Regions from separate parts of the Homo sapiens genome. Here regions 1, 2, 3, 4, 6 and 7 are each linked to region 5. The links are contacts of gene promoters, found by promoter capture Hi-C in blood cells and fetal thymus (Javierre and others, 2016). All regions are on one chromosome and are shown on one strand. Each heading gives the region's core, a stretch centred on a gene start or on the middle of the fragment in contact. The rest is flanking DNA. Distances are from core to core; before and after follow the strand shown.

Region 1 (2,755 bases), core at 51-2,550, 640 kb after region 5:
GCATTCACAAGTGCCAGAAATTGGGACGTGATCTCTCTGGGGGTGGGCTTGAGGGAAGGAGGGCAAAGGCATTATATCCCACTTACCACAAGCATTATATAAGCCTACACGTAACCAGGCACAGGAGATATAAAGTCTCTGCCTCTGATGGGATGGGATTGGGGTCATGCAAATAAATCAGATTTTCCGGCAGTGCAAAAGACTACAGATAACTCAGGAAGAGGCTAGCTCAGCTGAGGCAATCAGTTCACATACCTCAAGCAAGTGATATTTGACTTAAGTCTGACAAATCAGGAAGAGTTAGACAGATGGGTGGAAAGGGAGTTTTAAGCAGAGCAAAGAGCATATGCTAAAGTATAGAAATGTATAAAACAGCTCAGCAGTTTCCATGATTAACAAGATATTGGATTGTGTTGCTGAAAGTGGCAGAAGATGAAACTGTACCTAATGGCTCAACTGTGTTAAGAAAGATTGTTCTTCCTCTGATAATATCTGTTCTGGGCTCAAAAAAGAGGAGGTTGATCTTCTCTTACATAAACATTGCTTCCCAGTGTTCATGGTGTTGGAAATTATGTTCAAACCTGGTCAAACAGCCAAATGTATTTTAATCTACCTTTTTATTAGCCACTTCTAATGATAAAAGAAAAAGGAGCTACAAAGCTAGAATGAAGATAAGCAGTTGATGATCCAATGAAATTATTAAAAGACAGTTTCTAGAGAAAGATGTATAATATATTTTTCATAAGGCTCTTAATATAGTTCTGTTCTCTCACCACTGGCCTCATGAAAATTTTAGTGAGATTTTTATTAAGAAAAAAAGATCACCATGATAAAGACCCAAAGGTGAATTGTTAAGAAATGTGAAACAAATGTGATATTATTGAACCATTTCATACTAACAGCTTGTAAAACATCTATTTCTCTGTTATTAGGGAAATTTTATTTGATTTTTATCTTTTTAATATGGACAAATCTACAGCTGGTGCCTATTTTCCTGAATGACAAAAGATATAAGAAATGTGGCTAGGAAATTGTGAAGGTCAATTAATTCAGTCTCCTGACCTACTCAGACCCCTTGCCTGCAACGTTGGTGAGAGGCGTTTCATAAGTAAAGCACAAAGTTTAATAAATATCTGAAAGCTCATTTTGTGCCAGGCATTGTGCTGGACCTGCAGGAAACAAAGAGAGTAAGATAGAGTTTGCCCTCAAGGAACCACAGAGTGGCTGCAGGGTAAGGGTGGGGAACATATATGTGTAAGCAGCTCCATTATTGTCTATGTCAGATGATATAATTGAAAAGTGTCCAGGATGAAAGTGCTACTAAAACAGTGAAAGGACACTTACCTAATTCTATCTTGGAGAGTCTGCCGGAAAGGTCTTGTTAGAGGAGGTCATTCTTAAGATCAATCATGGATGAATGAATGAATGATCAACCAACTAATTAATCAGTAGAAGGAAGTTTCCTGGGGAAGAAGGCTGGGAGGAGACAGCATTGGTCAGAGGCAATAGCATATGCAAGGGATCGAGGTGGAATAAAGGTTACACATGATAGAGGTATCACAGATGTATTCTGGGCAATGGACTAGATTGTAATGAGCCTGGTATGCTATACTATAAGATTTGAAAATTAACCTATAAACCCCCACTACTCAAAGTGTGGTCCGAGGACCAGCAGCATCACATGAACCTTGCTAGACTCCACTCCAGGCTAGAAGCACATTTTAACAAGATCCCCAGGTGATTCAGGGTCACATTAATGTGTGAGAAGCACTCCTGTAGATATTGAAAAGCATTGATGGATTTAAAGTAAGAATGTGAAGCAATCACATTTGTGTTTTCAGGAAATCACAGAGTTTGGCAGTGAGAAGAGAAGATGAGGTATGGGAGAAGGTGATGTGGGGAAGAATAAAGGCTCAGAGACCATTTAGAAAGTTAATTTATGGATGATAAGAGTTTGAACTAGGGTCATGGCCATGGAGATGTCTTATTAACTCTTGGGGAAATGGAGAGTAAAGGACTCAAATGTTCTAGCTTGGTTGACAGATGCAATTACCCAAAACAGGGAGCTTAATGAAGCTCCTTTTGGACATCCTGAGATTGTTTGAAGCACAGGTGAAACAGTCAGGTGGATAATTTCACCACTGAACAGCACCGTGACTGTGACAATTCAGGAAGCTCTGAAGAACAGAAAAGGAAGTAAAATCTGAAGAAGTAGGAAAACCAGTAGAAAGCATTGTATGGAAAGCCAAGGGGAAGAAAGTCTCAGAGAAAGGTCAGGTCAAATGAACACTAGAGCATATTCTTTAGATTTGACATTCTGGGAGTTTGGGGAGAATTCCTTAATTATTAATGTACCAAAAATTCAGAAATAATTACTGAAATTGAGCAATAGTGAATAGAAATAGAATAGGGCCAGTGGTAGCCAGAGAAATTTACTAAAAGCAATGTAAGTTGGGACACGTATAATTCTAGTAGCAGGTGTTATTTTTAAGGACTCTCATGGAAGCAGTTTAGCCACTTAAACATGAGGATGCTTTGGCAGAAATCTTATAAAAGCCCACTGAAACATGGGGAGCCCAGCAATAAGGTAAAAACTGAGAAAATGGAGATCAGAGATGCTTAAGGCTCTATAAAGATTTTCACAGAAGGAAAACGGATGAAAGAAAGGAGTGAATCTTCTTTTTAAACTGGTCATTTAGAACGACATAAGTTTTGTGCTGTCTCATTAAGAACAGGTATGTGGAGTTAAGCCTTC
Region 2 (2,708 bases), core at 116-2,615, 790 kb after region 5:
GTAGTGCAGTGTCTTCAAGGTCAGTAATTTACATGTCCTCCTCTCGAGGCTAAGGCAGCCTCTCCTTGCAAATAGGAAGTTTTTGCTTGATCGTGACCTTGGGAAAAAGGAAGCAAAGGAGGAATGACTCCTTTTATGAGCTTTCTGGAGATATTTGTTCTAAGAACCTTCTCAGTATTCCCCGTACCTTTGGTGACTCTGAATAAGGAAAGCGAGCAAGCAGTGAAGAGAGAGGAGCTGGTTGCGGGTGAGCACACGCCCCTTGTAATTAATCTCCACTTCAGGACCAAAAGACAGTAGAGCTCCGTTCACTGATGGAGTTTATTCAGTCTGCGAAAACTATTACCACCAATGAATAGCAATCACGATGGGGCATTCCAGGTGCTCAGATGTCATTCTGTTAACTTGGTGTGAGCTACCCTCTGAAAGGCTCCAGCCCTGGACAATATTGTTGTTAACCAGGGATGTAGCATTAGTAACGGCAGACTCTTTCTGTGGCCCTCATTTTTATCTTGATGCTTTGTTCCCTTCTTTTTTATTGCCTCTCCACCTGGGCTTTTAATGTGTTTTTCCTAGGCTGGTACTTATTTCCAACAAGCTGCCAAGTAATCTCTCTGGAAAAGTCAACGGACTTTTTTTTTTTTTTTTTTTCTGTTCTTTACTTGTGTTTTTCTTTTTCTGTGTATTTTTCTTTGTGTGTTTGTGTGTGTGTGTTTGCTTGCATTTTGCTCGTGTTCTTTGCTTTGTTTGTGTTCTTCTGATAATTGCATCTTTAGGAGAAATTCCTGAATGAACACAGAGAGGACTTTAGCAACGCATTCGGCCTTGGAGAAGATAAAGGAGGAAATTTTCTAAGGTGGGGAGGACCTTTCCTCACGTCTGTCCTAGACAAGGCCACAGGCTGCAGGGCTGCGTCTCTGCCAACTGTGACAAGAACAGCCTCTTCCAGTCTACGGGATGCAATACTTTGTCCAATATTCAGTTAACAGGTAGTAAATATTGTCTTTCCCTCCTCTGTACCTTAAAAGGGCTTTCAGTCTTTCCAAGGGCCCTTTGCTCTTTGGTTAGAGTTGCCAGATTTAGTCAATAAAAGTCCAGGGCACCCAGTCTGGATTTTATTTTAATATGAATTTCAGATAACGATTTTTTAAAAAGTATTTGTATTTGTTGTTTATCTGAAATTCAGATTTAACTGGGCTGTCGTACTTTACCTGGCAACCCTATCTTTGATTGAACTCTGTTTTCACGCTGTTTTCCAGGGCATTCGAAATCTAGCTGAGTGACTGCTGAGCCAGGGCGCGAGGTCCTGGGCCTTGGAGCCCAGGTGGCCTGGGCGGTGCGGCTCCTCGCGCTGCTGCCTCAGGCTCTCACCTCCCTCTAGCGGCCGCCAAGGACATCACACACGCCGAGCGGAAGCCCTGCTGGGCGGTGCTGCCGGCTCCAACCCCGGAAAGGCCACGTCCGAGAGAGCTCACCTACTTTCTCCTGGAGGGGCTGCGGTGGGGGCCTGCACAAGAAAGTGGCCTTACTCCCAATAGCGGAAATGGAGTTTCCCTTGTTTCACTTAAAAATACAATGGAAAAAAATGCCTCTGTACAACAGCCTAAGCTGACAGTTGATGTCTAACCCTGGGCTGTACTCACCACTAAACACTGATAGATGTTGTCATTTTCATGCTAAAGAAACCCCACTCACCCCAAATAATTTGTCAAAGAGTACTCATGTAGACAGCAAGTTTTGGAAGGTGGAGATGCTTATCTGTCTTCTGTGATGTGCCTGTGCCTGATAGCTAGTAAATAAGTTTAAATGAATTGACATTGAAATACACTACAGGCTTGGAATTAAAAACAAAGAAGAAACCTATTCCTACCCTCAGAGAATGACCACTTCATCGCAGAGGAGATGATGGCTGAAGTGCTTATGCTCATCAACGACTGTGGAATTGGGTCTTGGAATTTTAGTTCCTCTGTTAAACTTAGGAAATGGATGGCTGGAGGTCTGCGCCAGCCGATGAGGGATTGATACACCTGAGATTGCTTTACAAAACACTGCTTTTAGTGTTTAATGACACAGGATAGTGTCTACAGCAGTGGCATGGAGCCAGAACATGGGTTCTAGAATCCAGAGATGACTCGCAGGTTCCATCTGAGTTCCTTAAAGGACAGTTTCTGCAACGTAGGTGTTCCATGATTGCTTGTTGAATGAATGAATAGGAGTATCTATCACAACCATGTCCACACTCATTGGCTTTAGTGGAGTCAAGGCAAGGTAGAGATATTAATGACAGAATTCTGGTGATAGGGGCCCCTACCACCAATGGCAGTATTAAGGGGTGATTAGGGAGAAGGGTAGCTTTTAGTCTCTTTCAAGCCACGCAAACAAAGATCACAGAATCTAAGCAAAAGCAAATGTCTTGCTTTACAGTTTCAAGACAAAGCCCCTGGAAGTTGCCCCCTTTTAAATAGATTGTCCCTTAGCCTTGCTACGCAAATACACTGGATCCTGTAACCATGTTAGCCCTTATCTGTAATTTCACAAAGTCGGGTGGCAGGTATTTGCTCAGGAAATTGAGACATTAGGTACTCACACTTTTAAAAATAACACATAAGGAAGGCAATAATAATTACATAAGATAATATGTTCCAGGCTCTATATCTTGTTATCTAATTTAATCTTCACTGTAACCCTGTAATGTTATTATTATTGCC
Region 3 (2,920 bases), core at 134-2,633, 950 kb after region 5:
GTAGTTTCTGTCATATCGTAATCTGTACCTACAACCTATAAATATTCTAAGGATGTAAAACGTCTTGATAATCATGTATTGCCATACAGATATCTCTCTATTAAGAGAGAGATTTTAAAGGTTAGCATTCTTAGAGCAGATAAAGAGTAGATGAATTTTTTCACATAAGTGGTGTTAATTGGAAAGTGATAGCTTCTGGAAGAGATTGGTTTTTACAGTTCATGTAGTTCTGGAGGTATTCAAAGGTGTAGTATTTGAGTGAATAGGAATGATGGATAAGTGAAGAAGTTCGATGATGAGTGTGCTGATAGGGAACACAAGGGATACTACAAAAGAAAATGAATGACATTTCAGAGAAAGGAAATAAAGGGATGCGATACATTATAACCATCAACCGGTGGCTATATCTTTAATGTCTTAGGGGATAGCTTAAATCCGTGTTGTCTTTTGCGTTTCATTTTCATAATGTAATCCTTGATCTTAATTAGAACTGGTCTTAAAGATTTTATAACCCAGCCTCTTACCTACTTAATATAGTTTTACTATATATTGCCTCATTTTATTATATGTAGAATATTCTAAAGAATGATTGCTAACTAAAATAGCGATAATAGATATTTCTTGTGATACTAGGTTAATTATTGTTAACAAATATTTGTGGAGCTCTTTTGTGCCAAGCATTGTTCTAGGTGTTGAGGATATATTAATAGCAAAAAGGCAAACAAAGCACAAATGTATACTGGACAGATTTAAGCTCAAAGGCCAAACTCCTGTGATGTAATTGGCTTTCTGATATTTCTAGCAAGCCATTATAGAACATTATTGTTTAAAAAAAAACTCAAAATCTATGGCCGGCCACAAGCTGATGTTTGCTAAATTCATATAAAATAACCCTAACCACTTTGTATTTTAAATGCCATCTTTTCAAACAAAGATTTCTTGTCTGCATACAAATATTTACTTTCAGAAAGAATTCCCCAAAATTAAATATCCGGTGGTGGCATATCTGGAATAAGTGTCAGCTATATCATGAAAACTAACTTGGGTTCTGTTTGATGTAACACTTTTAAGTTTATATCAGTCTAAAATACATGAAACTGAATCAGACTTATTTGTTAAATTGTAATGTTTTAAATAAAAATATATATATATTTCCTAGTTTTAGAACTCCAGTTGTAAAGAATGACTTTCCACCTGCTTGTCAGTTGTCAACACCTTATGGCCAACCTGCCTGTTTCCAGCAGCAACAGCATCAAATACTTGCCACTCCACTTCAAAATTTACAGGTTCGATAAGCTTTATATATGATGGTATATGTTAAGATACAGTCCGTTTTACAGCTTTTATTTTTATAGCATCTAGTTATCAAGAAAGGTCTTAAGAACTTGGCCATTCTTATTTCCACTAGACAAAACTTTTCTGATATTCTAATAAGAGTGTGCCTTGTGGCTTTGAGAGGTTGGTTATTGAAGAAGCTTACGAAGCTACTCTTAATAACTAGGCCAAAGGATCCAGTTTGAATAGCTGGATAAAATTTCTCTTATGAATCAAGGTTACCTTTTATTTTTTATTTTTATTTATTTATTTATTTATTTATTTATTTATTTTTTGAGACAGAGTCTCGCTCTATTGCCCAAGCTGGAGTGCAGTGGCGCGATCTCGGGTGACTACAACCTCTGCTTCCCAGGTTCAAGCGATTCTCGTGCCTTAGCCTCCCGAGTAGCTGAGATTACAGGCACGCACCACCACACCTGGCTAATTTTTGTATTTTTACTAGAGACAGGGTTTCACCATGTTGCTCAGGCTGGTCTCAAACTCCTGGCCTCAAACCATCCGCCCGCCTCAGCCCCCCAAAGTTCTGGGGTTACAGGCATGAGCCACTGCGCCTGGCCAGCGTTACTTTTTGTTGTGTTTTGTCAGCTGCTAGTGAGCAGCTTCATTTTGTTTGTTAGTATACAATTCATTTGGAAATGTAAATTTTCAAAAATATCAGAATAGCAATATGAGGTACTGCTAGAATGTATTATACTAATAACTAAACTAAGAGGAAAGATTTTTTGCTGATGAGGCAAAAGTTGGTTTCTAGTAACTGTCCTAGAGGCAGCTTAATACTGGTAGAAAACATGGGCCTTGGAGACACTGGGCATGAATCTTAGCCTCACTACTTACAGTCTGTGTGATCTTTTGCAAGTTACCTAAATTTTCGGTGCCCATTTCATTATCTATAAAATTAGTAAAGCTAACTACCTCCTAGGATGGTTGTGAAGATTAAATTAGTTAATATAGACGTAACTCCTAATACAGAGCATGACACTTAGTAAATCAGAAATGTTAGTAGCAATTGTTATTTAAATAAAACAATAAAAAACCCATGAGTAATTAACTATAAAAATCAACTGATAAAAAAATTAGCTGACAGAATAAGAACAGTGGTTGTCAGGGAAGGGAGGAAGAATGGGGAGTTACTGTTTAATGGGTATAGAGTTTCAGTGGTATTTGCACCACCATCCATCACCAGAACTTTTTCATCATCACATACTGAATGTACTTAATGCCACTGAATTGTACCTAAAAATGGTTAAAGTGGTAAATTTTGCATTATGTATAATTTGCACAGTTTGAAAGAATAATGGACAAAATAATGAGCTGACAGTAGATACTAACTGGAAAGAGGTGATAGTGTTTTAAGGATTGAAACAATATAATAAATTACAAAGGAAAAACAAAAATGATCCAGTTTGTTCATGCATTGATTCAAAACACATTTATTTAGCTATTACTAGTGTCAGGCCCTGTTTGAGTTGCAATCCAGAAGACGAGTCACAGATGACAAGTGAAGGGGCTTGGTGGAGCCTTCTAGAAGAGGCCAGTGTCAGAAGAGAACTGAAACGAGGCCACAGTGTGGCTAGAGGTCAGGAAG
Region 4 (3,005 bases), core at 461-2,960, 620 kb after region 5:
CTATGAAATATACATTCTCACATGGCTTTTGGCCACAGTATTAAAGTTGATCTTGGTGTCACTGAAGTTAACTTGATTTCAGGGGACCATCCTAAAGGTAGTGAGGGCCCTGGACACTGCCCCCATTCAGCCCACCGTTTTCAGGGACCTAAATCAGTTATACCTGGACAGGAGTATCTGGGACCAGAGCAGATGTCCATAGCACAAGGTCTGTGCCACTCTCCATGAACCATTTAGGGCTTTAAAAGCTAATAGTAACTCATACTTCATCGTCGTATGAGAGAAGTGAAAATGTCTTCAAGAACAATTTAGCATTTTCTCTCTTCTAATCTTCTATTTTTTACCTTGGTAGTGATTCATCATACAGTCTATAGTCTAAGGCTTTGACAGAGTGTTCACAGGTTTAATGTACTAAAAGATGAAAGCCCTGTTTTCTCTTTTCCTTTCCTACTCCCTGTGTAGTATACACACATAAAAAACATGGCAACAAAGCCTATCAGGAAACATAAAGACATCATTAGCACCTATAATTGCTCTTACTTGGTAGGAGAGGACATTCATGGGCCCAACAGGCCCAGGTGCAGTGTAGGCTCTGACTGGGCTGCCCTCCATAGTGGGAGGGGCAAAGGTAGGTTAGAGGTCTCTAGATGGTGGCCTGCAGGCCACATTGGCCCTGGATATGTTGTTTGTCCTGTGAAGAGGTTTTTTAAAGTATGTAAATATTAGATGGTATGGAATCCCTGGTGGGGGTGGTGGGGGGATCTCAGTTTCCCTTGTAGTTGGCTGGAGCCCACAGTGGCTGGCCCATTGTGATAGCCAACTAATTCTGAGAAAGGGAGGCCATTTCACCGATACTTTTTAGGTAGAAAACCATCAAAGTTAAAATTTAGTAGACCCCAAGAAGGGCCTGTCATAGAAGATTGTACTTTCAGATCCCTAGCTTTCAGGGGTAATATCCAAAGTAGGTAACAACCGGTCAACACTGGGTGCTGACTGGCCAGAGCTTGAGCAGGCCACAGAGGCCCCCTGTGCCAGATGTCAGCTCTTTATCCATTGGCTCAAGGGGGAGGGTGCGCAGGGGTGGCAGTTGGGGGACTGGGGCAGCGACTCTTTACTAACAGATATGGTCGTTCTAGAGTGGTTCTTCATCTTGGGTTGCTATTAATGGGCATCTCTGCAGGCCCTCTGAGCAAGGTAACCCCCCACCCAGCCATACACAAGTGGAACAGTACCTCTGAGAGGAATCTCAGTAGGTCATTGAAAACATGCGGCTTTCTTTCCACTTTTATATTTGGCAGGTCGGGTGGGTGTGATTTAAATCTGGGCTCTGATGCTGAAACCCAGGATTTTCTCTTATCAATCACATGGAGGTGATCTGTTATGATTTCCAACATCTCTGTTCCTGACATTTAAAAAACCCCTGCCAAGGGTGAATTTTCTTGTCGATGTAATGCAATAACTGACTTTTTTTTTTTTTTTTTTTTTTTTTTTTTTATAGGCAGAACCTTAGAGAAGAAGAGTGGAAGATGACGGAGATGCATTTTGAAGCACCCCTGGTACTCAGCACACACATGCTTACCTAATGCATCACTGTGACAAAAGCCACACGCATTATCAGTAACTTTGCTTGCCACGGAAAAGGTGTTTTTGAAAGATGTGGCTATAATGAGAATTGCATGATTGCTTTAAACCAAATCAGGTGGTGGATTTTTTTTTTCTTATTCTATTTGCCTGCAGTTGCCTCACTCACCTGGAAATACCGTCACCTGTTACAGGTGTACTTTCTTAATGACTGAAAGATAAGTGGGTAGCACCGTCAGAGAGAAAATGTTGGATCTGCCCTAGGTTATAGTAGATGCCGGAATTGCGTAAACCCACTTCTCTTTAAGCTGCCTGGATTGCACCTTTGAAATATGTCTGCCAAGTTGTTAGAATCTTTGAATCAGAAGGAAAAAAAGCAGCGCTGGTTGACAAAGGGTGTTGAAGATTTTTGCTGCAGAATCAGTTACAAACATCACAGTTCCCATGCTTTGTAATAACACCTGGTGAAAAAGTTAGATATTCTAGACTTGTTTTAGTAATGGAAACTCTTACCTCCACATATTATCCTACAGATGTTTCCAGAAATCCCTGTTGTAACATCAAGTGATCAGAACTAAGTTACTGGGATGACAATAATTGCTATTTGAAATATATGCTTCTTTATTTCTTGCAAGGGGCAAGTTTCACCCAAATGCCTGAGACTGCTTGAAAGATATATTTTAAGTGGTGCACTAATTAGTGAATATATAGGAAAATTATCTGACGAGTATCTGAAGGCATTTTCAGCTCTAGCAATTTATTTATAATATATAAGTTCATATATTTTTTAATCCAGCTCCCCTAACAGACAGCTGCTGCTTCTATTTTGTGAAGGGACTATATTTTTTGAGAAAGGAAAATCTCAGTTAGATATATTTTGTGAACCCTTGATTAGACATATTAAAATATACCAATGTTGTAGTAAAATTTAATTTTTCCTTTTGTTACTTTTCATTTGCCTCTAATTTTGCTTGCTCATATTTCTGGCCAATGTACAGCCTCATATTTTTCAGAGTAATACAGATACTTGTTCTCATTCCGTATATGAGCACAAGTAAGGTTTCAGAGCAACACACATGAGAAAGAGAGTAACCCGGAATTGTACTTGTCAAGCAAAATCTATACTCCTATTGGAGTGGATGCTGATGAACATCGAACATATCTACTTCATTAGAGCAGAGGCTATTTTTCTGCATTCTTGTCCCTATAACAGGGATGCTTAATTTTTTTTTTAACTTAGAGTTTTAAATTGCCAAACATGGGAACAGCCTTGAATAGGATAAATTTTCAGAGGGCTGCCTAAAATATTTTATTTCTAGCATCCTGATTCTGGACTTTTCATTATAATTCTGAGCAGGAAATTTATAAGAAATTGAAAGAGCAGAAGAATTACAGCCCTGTCACATGTGCCCAGCACTCCGCCC
Region 5 (2,866 bases), core at 306-2,805:
TCAGTGTACTCCAATAATAATTTTTAATTAAACGAGAGGCATACCATAAGAATTAAAAAAAGCCTACTAAACTTCTGGTTTTAGGGAATTACAGGCTTTACACTTCTGCAAAGATGTGTTTTAGTAAATGCAAGACGAAGCACTGACCAACTATCATCACACATCAGAATCCTTCCAACAAAAAACCCAGGACTGAATTTAAGGAAAACAAAATAAACGACAGAGGGGGAAAAAATAATGTCTTGCCACGGTACCGCAGCGGCTGGATAGCCTGCTTGTGAAATGCTAATGCCACTTCGGAGCAGTTAGTCACCAGCTATTGTGTAGGGCAGGAGAAAGCCGAGCCGGCCGCGCGTGCAGAGCGAGCAAGCGAACGAGCGAGCGCGCTCTCCCTCTTCGCGCCGCTCCCGCCGCCGCCGACTCTCGCGCGCCCCCGCGCCCGCACGGACGCGCGCGCCGGCCCCTCCTCCTCCGGCCTTGCACTGCACAACACTCATGACGTATCTTTATTTCTAGCACATTAACAAAATATCACAAATAAATTGTCCGCAGCCCCTGCGGCCCCGAAGTACGAGTACCCCCGGCCACTGGCCCCCGCAGACCCCGCGCCGGCCTCCCAACCCTCCCCATGGCCTTTGGAGCTTTCACGTTCTAGGGCCAAGTTTTTGTCTCTGTAAAAAATTGCGGGAAATTCAATTTTTATTCGACTCAGGGAAAAGTTTCTTTGCTCTGCGACGTGAATGTCTCACCAGATTCTGGTAGGTCCTGGGATGCTCCTTCCCGGTCCAGTCGGTGCGCCGGGGCAGCAGCTGCGGGGAGAGGACACCCCGTGAGCCCGGCCCCCGGCCCCTACCCGCCCGCTCCCCTCCCCCGCCCGCCCCGCGCCCCGGCGGGGACCCCGAGCCCCGCGCCCCGCGCCCTGCCGGCGGCGGCAGCGGCGGCGCAGCGGCCCAGAGGCGGCCGCGCGGCGGCGGGACGCGCCGGGCCGCCGCCGCCCTTACCTCCTTCTCGGCCACCTCGCGGATCAGCACCTGCAACAACAAAGCGGGGAGAGCTGAGCCCCGCGCCCCGGGCCGCGGCCCCGCCGCCGCCGCCTCCCTCCCCCACGCCCGCGAGCGGCGAGCGCCGGCCCGGCCCGCGCCGCGCGCCGCCGTACCTGAGCCGCCTGCTGACAGGGTCCATCTTCCAGGAACCGGGCGATGAGGAAGTAGAGCTCTGCGCGGGAGAGAGGGACGGGGAGACACACAGGCTGAGCGGTCGGGCGGCGGGGGGCGGGGGACCGCGGGCGGAATCGCCCGGTGCCAGCGGCCCCGGCAGCCCCCCGACTTACCCGATCGCAGCTCCGAGAGGCCTTTCCTCTCACAAGACATGTTTATGGGTCACTTCAGGGCCGCCGACGGGACACCCCGCCGCCGAGGGGAAGCGGGGACGGTGCCGCCGCCTGCCCTATAGCTGTCAGTGTGTGTTCACGAGCCGAGCTTCGGCTCCACCATTCAAGCAACGGCGGCGGAGGCGGAGGAGGAGGAGGAGGAAACAACAACTCTCAGGCAGCGACTACGGCCGTGGCCGCCTCCGCCGCGGATCCCTCCGCCGCAGAAAGGAGTCCGCCGCCTTCGCGGCCCAGGGCTCGGCCCCGGCTCTGGCCCGCGCCCCCGCCCCCCGGCGCTAAAAAAGGAGTGCCTCCGACCCCTCGTCCCCAGCGCTCCGCACGCGGCACAGTGAGACCCCCACCCGCTCCTCCCCGCAGGGCGTGCGATTTATTTATTTATTTCCAGTCGGAGAAGATGTCGGAGCCCAAGCCGCCGGTTGGCTGGAAGGCGCTTTCTCTGTGGAGGCCGATAGTGGCAGGGAGGGGGCCGGGGACGGTTCCGCGGAGGGATCTGACGCACACGGAGCCGCAGCACAGGCTCTATTCAGCGGCGCTGGCTGGAGCTGAGATGGAAGTTAGTTTCTATGTAGCAGAAATATGAAACAAATGAAGCAAAACTGCCCAGAGAGGGGAAATGCCCCAAGGATGGGTCTCACTCACGCGCGTACACAGACACACACGCAGAGAGCACTCTCACGCTGGGCAAGCTCGGGATCGCGCTACCCTTCCCGAGTTGAATGATAGTGTTTGGTTTCTGTCTCTTGCCATGTGCATGTGTATAAATGCTGCGGATTGGCATCTGTGTAAGTCTTGTCCTGCGTTATTTCTGCAGCCTATGCAAGTGTTGTGTAATTTATTGGAGTGCTGTATATTGCAATAGAGGTTTGGGCTGCTTTTTGTTAAGCACTTGCGTTTTGCAAACCCGTTATTTGCTGAAGCCACCTCTGCATATTTCTTTTATTACTGCCATTGCCTTTGGCGTACGTTTTTTAAATGTTTTTTATTGTTAAACGGGCAAAGCGAACTCTTGATTTGTACTTCAGATACTCTTTTTCCTTATTACAAAAAGGCTAGTGATGGCTAATTAGGTATTTGGAATTAAAGAACCTTAAAGCTTTTTTAAGTGTTTACGAGAAGGGAGAATGTAAACCTGAGGGAAAGGAAAGGACGCTAATATTCATGTCTAACTGATCTGGAGGTAATTTAGTGACAGATCGATAACCTGCCTAAGGATATTGAAAGAGTATACTACAGTTTAGCCAAGGTGAATAGTGATTAAATAATTTAAATAATCTGTGTATCTTGCAGTTGACTTCGTCATGCTAATTAATGGCTTCTAATTTGAGATGTAAACCATTCCTGTTTACAGTTAATCACGGGAAGACTTCTTGAAAACTGACGAAAAGGAGAAAAAAAAATCTTTCGTAAATTAGTATGTAATTACCGATTTTATATGCTAAATCATACATCTGTGTTTTGCTGATGAGGATAAGGGCC
Region 6 (2,700 bases), core at 180-2,679, 590 kb after region 5:
AACTTGTCTTCTTACTTTATTTTGTTAATTTTATCTTCAATCACTGATATCCTTTCTTCCACTTGATCAAATCGGCTGTTGAAGCTTATGCATGTGCTACGAAGTTCTCGTGCCATGGTTTTCAGCTCCAGCAGGTCATTTAAGGTCTTCTCTACACTGCTTATTCTAGTTAGCCATTTGTCTAACCTTTTTTCAAGGTTTTTAGCTTCCTTGCGAAGGGTTAGAAGATGCTTCTTCAGCTCAGAGAAGTTTGTTATTACCGACATTCTGAAGCCTACTTCTGTCTACTCGTCAAAGTCATTCTTTGTCCAGCTTTGTTCCATTGCTGGCGAGGGACTGCCATCCTTTGGAGAAGAGGTGCTCTGGTTTTTAGAATTTTCAGCTTTTCTGCTCTGGTTTCTCCCCATCTTTGTGGTTCTATCTACCTTTGGTCTTTGATGTTGGTGACCTACAAATGGTGTTTTTGTGTGGATGTCCTTTTTGTTGATGTTGATGTTACTTCTTTCTGTTTGTTGGTTTTCCTTCTGACAGTCAGTTTCCTCAGCTGCAGGTCTGTTGGAGTTTGCTGGAGGTCCACTCCAGACCTGTTTGCCTGGGTATCACCAGCAGAGGCTGCAGAACAGCAAATATTGCAGAACAGCAAATGTTACTCCCTGATCCTTCCTCTGGAAGCGTCGTCCCAGAGGGGCACCCGCCTGTATGAGGTGTCAGTCGGCCCCTACTGGGAGGTGTCTCCCAGTTAGGCTACACAGGGATCAGGGACCCACTTGAGGAGGCAGTCTGTCCGTTCTCAGAGCTCAAACATCGTGCTTAGAGAACCACTGCTCTCTTCAGAGCTGTCAGACAGGGACGTTTAAGTCTGCAGAAGTTTCTGCTGCCTTTTGTTCAGCTATGCCCTGCTCACAGAGGTGGAGTCTATAGAGGCTGTAGGCCCTGCTGAGCTGTGGTGGGCTCCACCCAGTTTGAGCTTCCTGGTGGCTTTGTTTACCTACTCAAGCCTCCCCAGTGGCGGCCGCCCCTCCCCCAGCCAGGCTGCTGCCTCGCAGGTTGATGTCAGACTGCTGGGCTAGCAGGGAGCAAGACTACCAGGGCGTGGGGCCTGCCAAGCCAGGCATGGGAGAGAATCTCCTAGTCTGTCAGTTGCTAAGACCTAGGAAGAGCACAGTATTTGAGTGGGAGTGTCCTGTTTTTCCAGGTACAGTCTGTCATGTCTTCCCTTGGATAGGAAAGGGAAATCCCCCAACCCCTGTCCTTCCCAGGTGAGGTGACGTCCCACCCTGCTTCAGCTCGCCCTCCGTGGGCTGCACCCACTGTCCAACCAGTCCGAATGAGATGAACCAGGTACCTCAGTTGGAAATGCAGAAATCACCTGTCTTCTGCATCGATCACGCTGGGATCTGCAGACTGGAGCTGTTCCTATTCACCCACCTTGGAACGGACTTGTGATTGGATTTAATGTTTAGCTCTTTTTGCATGCCAGGCACTGCACTAAGAACTTTATGAACATTATGACATTTAAATTTCACTGCAGTTCTCTATGCTGAATTATTATCTGTGTTTTACAGATGAGGAAACCAAGGCTTTGGTAGAATAAGTATCTTGGCCAAGGTGACACAGACCCAACCCTTTTTGACTGTTCAGGACTAGAACATTAATAAAGCCAACTGGCCCAATTGAGGTTCAGGCTGCTGCCTTTGGTGTCACTGTCACTGTGTTCAGTCCAGCAAAGCCACATGTTCACAGACCAACCAGTGTCCCACACAGACCTCAGTGTCCCACTTGCAGCAGCCAGAACTACTTCCCATTCATCAGTCATATAAAGGTTTTTGTTAACAGTTTGATAGTTGAAATCATGTTATGTTCCATGATGTCAATTAGCTATTCCAGGAAACCAATGGAAAGACGGAAAGATGTTACATTAAAACAATTCACTGAAATATTTCATTTGAAAGACTTTAGGAGACAAGATTTAGAAAAATCTGTGTAAAGTCCCTGTGTTTTAGTACTGCTAGGTAGCCTACTACTAATAACCATTTGTTATCATTGAAAAAGTTGCCCAGGCATGGTGGCTCACGTCTGTAATCCCAGCACTTTGGGAGGCTGAGGAGGGCAGATCATGAGGTCAGGAGTTTGAGACCAGCCTGACCAACATGGTGAAACCTCGTCTCTACTAAAAATACGAAAATTAGCAAGGCGTCGTGGCGGGCGCCTGTAGTCCCAGCTACTCAGGAGGTTGAGACAGGAAAATCGCTTGAACCCAGGAGGAGGAGTTTGCAGTGAGCTGAGATCGAGCCACTGCACTCCAGCCTGGGCAACAGAGCGAGACTCCGTCTCTAAATAAATAAAAAAATAAAAATTCAGCAAATTTGAAACACCATCTTTACAACACACCTAAATCTCCAATGTTAGAATAATGTTTAAATACATTAGCATAAGTACTCAATATAATTCATACATGCAATAAGATAGCTATGGAGATTTTAGAAACAAAAAATATTCGTAATACAACAGAAACATCCTTCCCCAAAACATTTGTTATTATGGCAACTATATAAAGTCTACTTCTAAATGTGGGCTCCCTGGAAGGTTCTATGAAAAATAAAAGCCTCAGCGTGATGAGATTATGGGTTTTTTAAAATTAAAAAATTTCAAATGGGAAAGATGATTTACCATATTATAAACATGTAAAAAAGAAACCAA
Region 7 (2,922 bases), core at 256-2,755, 730 kb after region 5:
ACACAGTCTGCTCTCAAAACTGTTGATTGAAGATGAGGATGAAGATAGTGAAGATGAAGAAAATGATAATCCTCAGAGAGTTCAAAACCCTACCTCTAAATAGCTGTCTTTGCTAATAATGCCTTGTTACTAACCAGGGCCATGTGACATGAGATACACGACTGGCCTCCAGCTGAGGAAGGTGAGAGAATAGAGAGGAGAGGGGACGCTGCCATGTCAGGGAGCTCTTGGGTGGAAGGCAGACAGCCTCAGAGACAGATTTCACCTAATGTAAATGTTTCCCAGAATGGTTGCTATTTTTGTTCTAAGTAGTTTGCTTATGCCAAAAGTGCATATTTCCCCAACAATCCTCAGGAAATAAGACACAGAAGTCTGTCTTTAATTTTCATGATATCCTGCAATTTAAATCAGTCTGGGTGCATCTGTGTGGTTTTTATTTTTTGGTATTGTTTAGATGTAATTAAGCAAATCAATACACAGGTACTTAATTATATATTAACAGGGCCATTTGTTAACAAACTTAGTTATAGGATGGAATTAAACTGTAGTAAAGATTTAAAAACCTGCAATAAATTCAATTAATATCAGGTCATTACTCAGAATCTGAATTTATAGATATATTACCATCTTGACAGGAATTTATATTGATTGGATATTTTGAATATTAATAAAATATAAAATTTAGTATTAATAAGTGGGACTATGGTACAATTTTAAAAAGAAAAAAACAAAATTGTGGTTTTTCTAGTTCTTTTAGAGTTGAAGGGGTTAATATGTTTCTCTGAGTCTCACATATTTGTATTTGCCTCTATGCCTATCAAAATTTTATAAAAGCTACTCTAAGATTGGTTTTCTTAATTTTTGTTTTTCGTCCATTTATTCGTGTTTATTAAGGAAAACGGTAATGGAGCTAAAGGTAGGTGAGTCGGCTGTAATTAAGGAAGCTACGGTAATTAAATTATTGTACGGCCACCCCTCGAGCTGTCATTTGAAAGGATGAAAGCTTAATTTTTCCATCAACAAAGTCAATTTCATCCAAGCTGTTGTTTAGAATGCCACATGCATTTAAAAATTACATGTTTAAACTAATCAGGAGCAAATGGAATTTAAACCCCTCTTCAAAATAACATGGATAGATTGTAAATTTATGGAGCATTTTCACTATAGAAAATTAAGTCCATTCAAAACATATCCAGGAGTCATCAGGCAAACAGGGCAGTACTGATGTAAACTACCCACTGTGTGAGCTTAAGGCAGAAGGGTCTCTAATAAATTCGAGTAAATAGCAGCTGAACTGGCCTCACCATGGCTTATGTGTTCAACCTAGCAAGGAAAAAGTTAGCATTAATTGGTACACTCTAGGCTCTCTCAAAGGAACAGGCACTTAGAGCAATTAAGTCAGATGCAGAAAAACAGCTCTGCATTGAAAAGCTGACAGCAGGACTCCTGCACAATATACGTAATGAGTGGCTGAGGACTTTAATGGATCGAGGCTTGGAGACTAATGGACAATTAATGTAAAACAGATGACTTCCCTTGGAGATGACAGTCTTTTGAAAGGCGCTTCACCTGCTGCTCGAACAAATGCGGCTAAAGTGAAATGAAAACAGGAACGTGGTCTCATTGAACGAGGCTAGAGCTAGTATTTGTGTCCCTGCTTTCTCCTTGAATAGTTTCAAAAACTAGGTCAGGAATTTAACAATTCCCTGCAGCTGGTGGTGCAAGCCCCCTCTCGTGGCCTCCCGCCATCCAGGGTGGCCTGAGATCACTGACTGTGCCTCTTGAGCCTTTTGAGAAGCTGCCCTAGCTCGCCTTGTTTAACAGGCAAAAAGAAGACAGGACATATTATAGTGTTCCAGCCTCACTTTTAAAATGACAACAAACCACCCCAACATAGAAATTGCAGTAAATACATATTGGAACATCTATTGGAAATTTAAGAACATGGTTTCTTCTCAAATTAGGCTATTTTAATTTTAAATTAAGATAACTGGAGTCCTTCAAATTTAAGCTTTATAAGCACAGACAGGCTCCCTCCTTATGATAAGTGGTTGTGTACCGAAAGCAAATAATTGTTTGCAAAGAGAAACTCATTTCCTATAGAAACAATGCTGCGGTGGCATTTAATTTTCCACGTGATCTTCCTGAAATCTGTTTAACCCAGATGGAAGCTTAACACAAGTCAGCCTGAGCCCTGGGTCCTGGAACAGGGAGGAGTCAGCTACTCCTGTGGGAGAGGGGAAAGAAGAGGGAGACAAAGATGTTTCCCCCTCTTAGTGGGAAATGGGATTGGACTGAGCTATAATTTTGAGTTACAAACTAATCCTTGGCAATTTTCTATCTTCTAACATCCCTTTACTCAACACTCAAGAAATCAGTGCCTTATGTCATTTAAGTCGCTAGGCATTTCACCCCTGCCCCCAAGCCCCCAACTCCTCTCCTCACTACAGATGTACATATCTTAGCAATTCCCTATTTGTTCTCCTGTAATTTTTCTTCCATTTTCTCATAACAGTACATCTCATCTAGAAATTGAGGAAAGCAGCTTGTATGGGCTAATGAACACCTTTGGTTGATGGCCTGAGCACTCCCAGAAGCCTCTGCATATTAAAGAAAGAATTGCTTCTAAACTCACATGCATGTCCCATTGACAGAATTTCTGTAAGAAAAAAAAAAATCAAGTCAAAATTTCAGGTATCTAATTCAAAAAAACCCACAAGTGCAGGAGAAACGTATTAGGATATTTGTTATAGCAATGAAAAGTAGAAACCACGTAGAAGTCAATGAGAAAATGCCTTAAGTGTGATATATTCATATGATGTCAGATTATGCAGGAGTTATGTGGGTACATTAGAAAATTAGCAAACGTCACCCTTTTCTCTCAGCCTGATTAGGTTTCAGCCCCCATGTGCCTGCTCAGCA

What was found. The method cuts DNA at HindIII sites, captures the fragments that hold promoters and counts their contacts. A CHiCAGO score of 5 or more calls a contact.
Region 1: a fragment that was not itself captured here is called in contact with the fragment with the promoter of PHIP in region 5 in 3 of 17 cell types (naive CD8 T cells, megakaryocytes and total CD4 T cells); the score reaches 7.0 in naive CD8 T cells.
Region 2: a fragment that was not itself captured here is called in contact with the fragment with the promoter of PHIP in region 5 in 3 of 17 cell types (M0 macrophages, monocytes and naive CD8 T cells); the score reaches 7.6 in M0 macrophages.
Region 3: a fragment that was not itself captured here is called in contact with the fragment with the promoter of PHIP in region 5 in 1 of 17 cell types (fetal thymus); the score reaches 5.1 in fetal thymus.
Region 4: a contact is called between a fragment that was not itself captured here and the fragment with the promoter of PHIP in region 5, in 1 of 17 cell types (total CD8 T cells). The highest score is 5.6, in total CD8 T cells.
Region 6: a fragment that was not itself captured here is called in contact with the fragment with the promoter of PHIP in region 5 in 1 of 17 cell types (naive CD8 T cells); the score reaches 5.2 in naive CD8 T cells.
Region 7: a contact is called between a fragment that was not itself captured here and the fragment with the promoter of PHIP in region 5, in 1 of 17 cell types (M1 macrophages). The highest score is 5.4, in M1 macrophages.

The regions. Positions count from the first base shown.
Region 1 is chr6:79,714,962-79,717,716 of GRCh38, forward strand. No RefSeq gene overlaps it. Among named protein-coding and RNA genes, the nearest start is that of SH3BGRL2, 85 kb to the left of the region's middle. The HindIII fragment of the contact is 6,207 bases long and covers 1-2,755 here.
Region 2 is chr6:79,868,394-79,871,101 of GRCh38, forward strand. It overlaps LOC107986614 (a long non-coding RNA gene), which reads right to left. Exons shown (of 3, transcript XR_001744216.3): 1 at 1,871-2,708; 2 at 1-97. Among named protein-coding and RNA genes, the nearest start is that of LINC01621, 58 kb to the left of the region's middle. RefSeq lists a silencer at 1,305-1,482 and an enhancer at 1,471-1,580. The HindIII fragment of the contact is 7,794 bases long and covers 1-2,708 here.
Region 3 is chr6:80,026,726-80,029,645 of GRCh38, forward strand. It overlaps TTK (TTK protein kinase), which reads left to right. Exons shown (of 22, transcript NM_003318.5): 13 at 1,160-1,286. Among named protein-coding and RNA genes, the nearest start is that of TTK, 24 kb to the left of the region's middle. The HindIII fragment of the contact is 179 bases long and covers 1,295-1,473 here.
Region 4 is chr6:79,698,000-79,701,004 of GRCh38, forward strand. It overlaps SH3BGRL2 (SH3 domain binding glutamate rich protein like 2), which reads left to right. Exons shown (of 4, transcript NM_031469.4): 4 at 1,499-3,005. The coding sequence ends at 1,510. Among named protein-coding and RNA genes, the nearest start is that of SH3BGRL2, 68 kb to the left of the region's middle. The HindIII fragment of the contact is 5,171 bases long and covers 1-3,005 here.
Region 5 is chr6:79,076,699-79,079,564 of GRCh38, forward strand. PHIP (PHIP subunit of CUL4-Ring ligase complex) reads right to left here and starts at 1,556. Exons shown (of 40, transcript NM_017934.7): 1 at 1,331-1,556; 2 at 1,157-1,215; 3 at 1,002-1,031; 4 at 750-809. The coding sequence starts at 1,370. LOC124901346 (a long non-coding RNA gene) reads left to right here. Exons shown (of 2, transcript XR_007059652.1): 2 at 1-568. RefSeq lists silencers at 275-774, 1,274-1,443, 1,574-1,813 and an enhancer at 1,934-1,983. The HindIII fragment of the contact is 4,735 bases long and covers 1-2,481 here.
Region 6 is chr6:79,662,866-79,665,565 of GRCh38, forward strand. The region is part of intron 1 of SH3BGRL2 (SH3 domain binding glutamate rich protein like 2); the gene reads left to right. Among named protein-coding and RNA genes, the nearest start is that of SH3BGRL2, 33 kb to the left of the region's middle. RefSeq lists an enhancer at 484-1,096. The HindIII fragment of the contact is 2,694 bases long and covers 83-2,700 here.
Region 7 is chr6:79,808,892-79,811,813 of GRCh38, forward strand. It overlaps LINC01621 (long intergenic non-protein coding RNA 1621), which reads right to left. Exons shown (of 5, transcript NR_131786.1): 2 at 2,636-2,659. Among named protein-coding and RNA genes, the nearest start is that of LINC01621, 1.9 kb to the right of the region's middle. The HindIII fragment of the contact is 1,008 bases long and covers 1,002-2,009 here.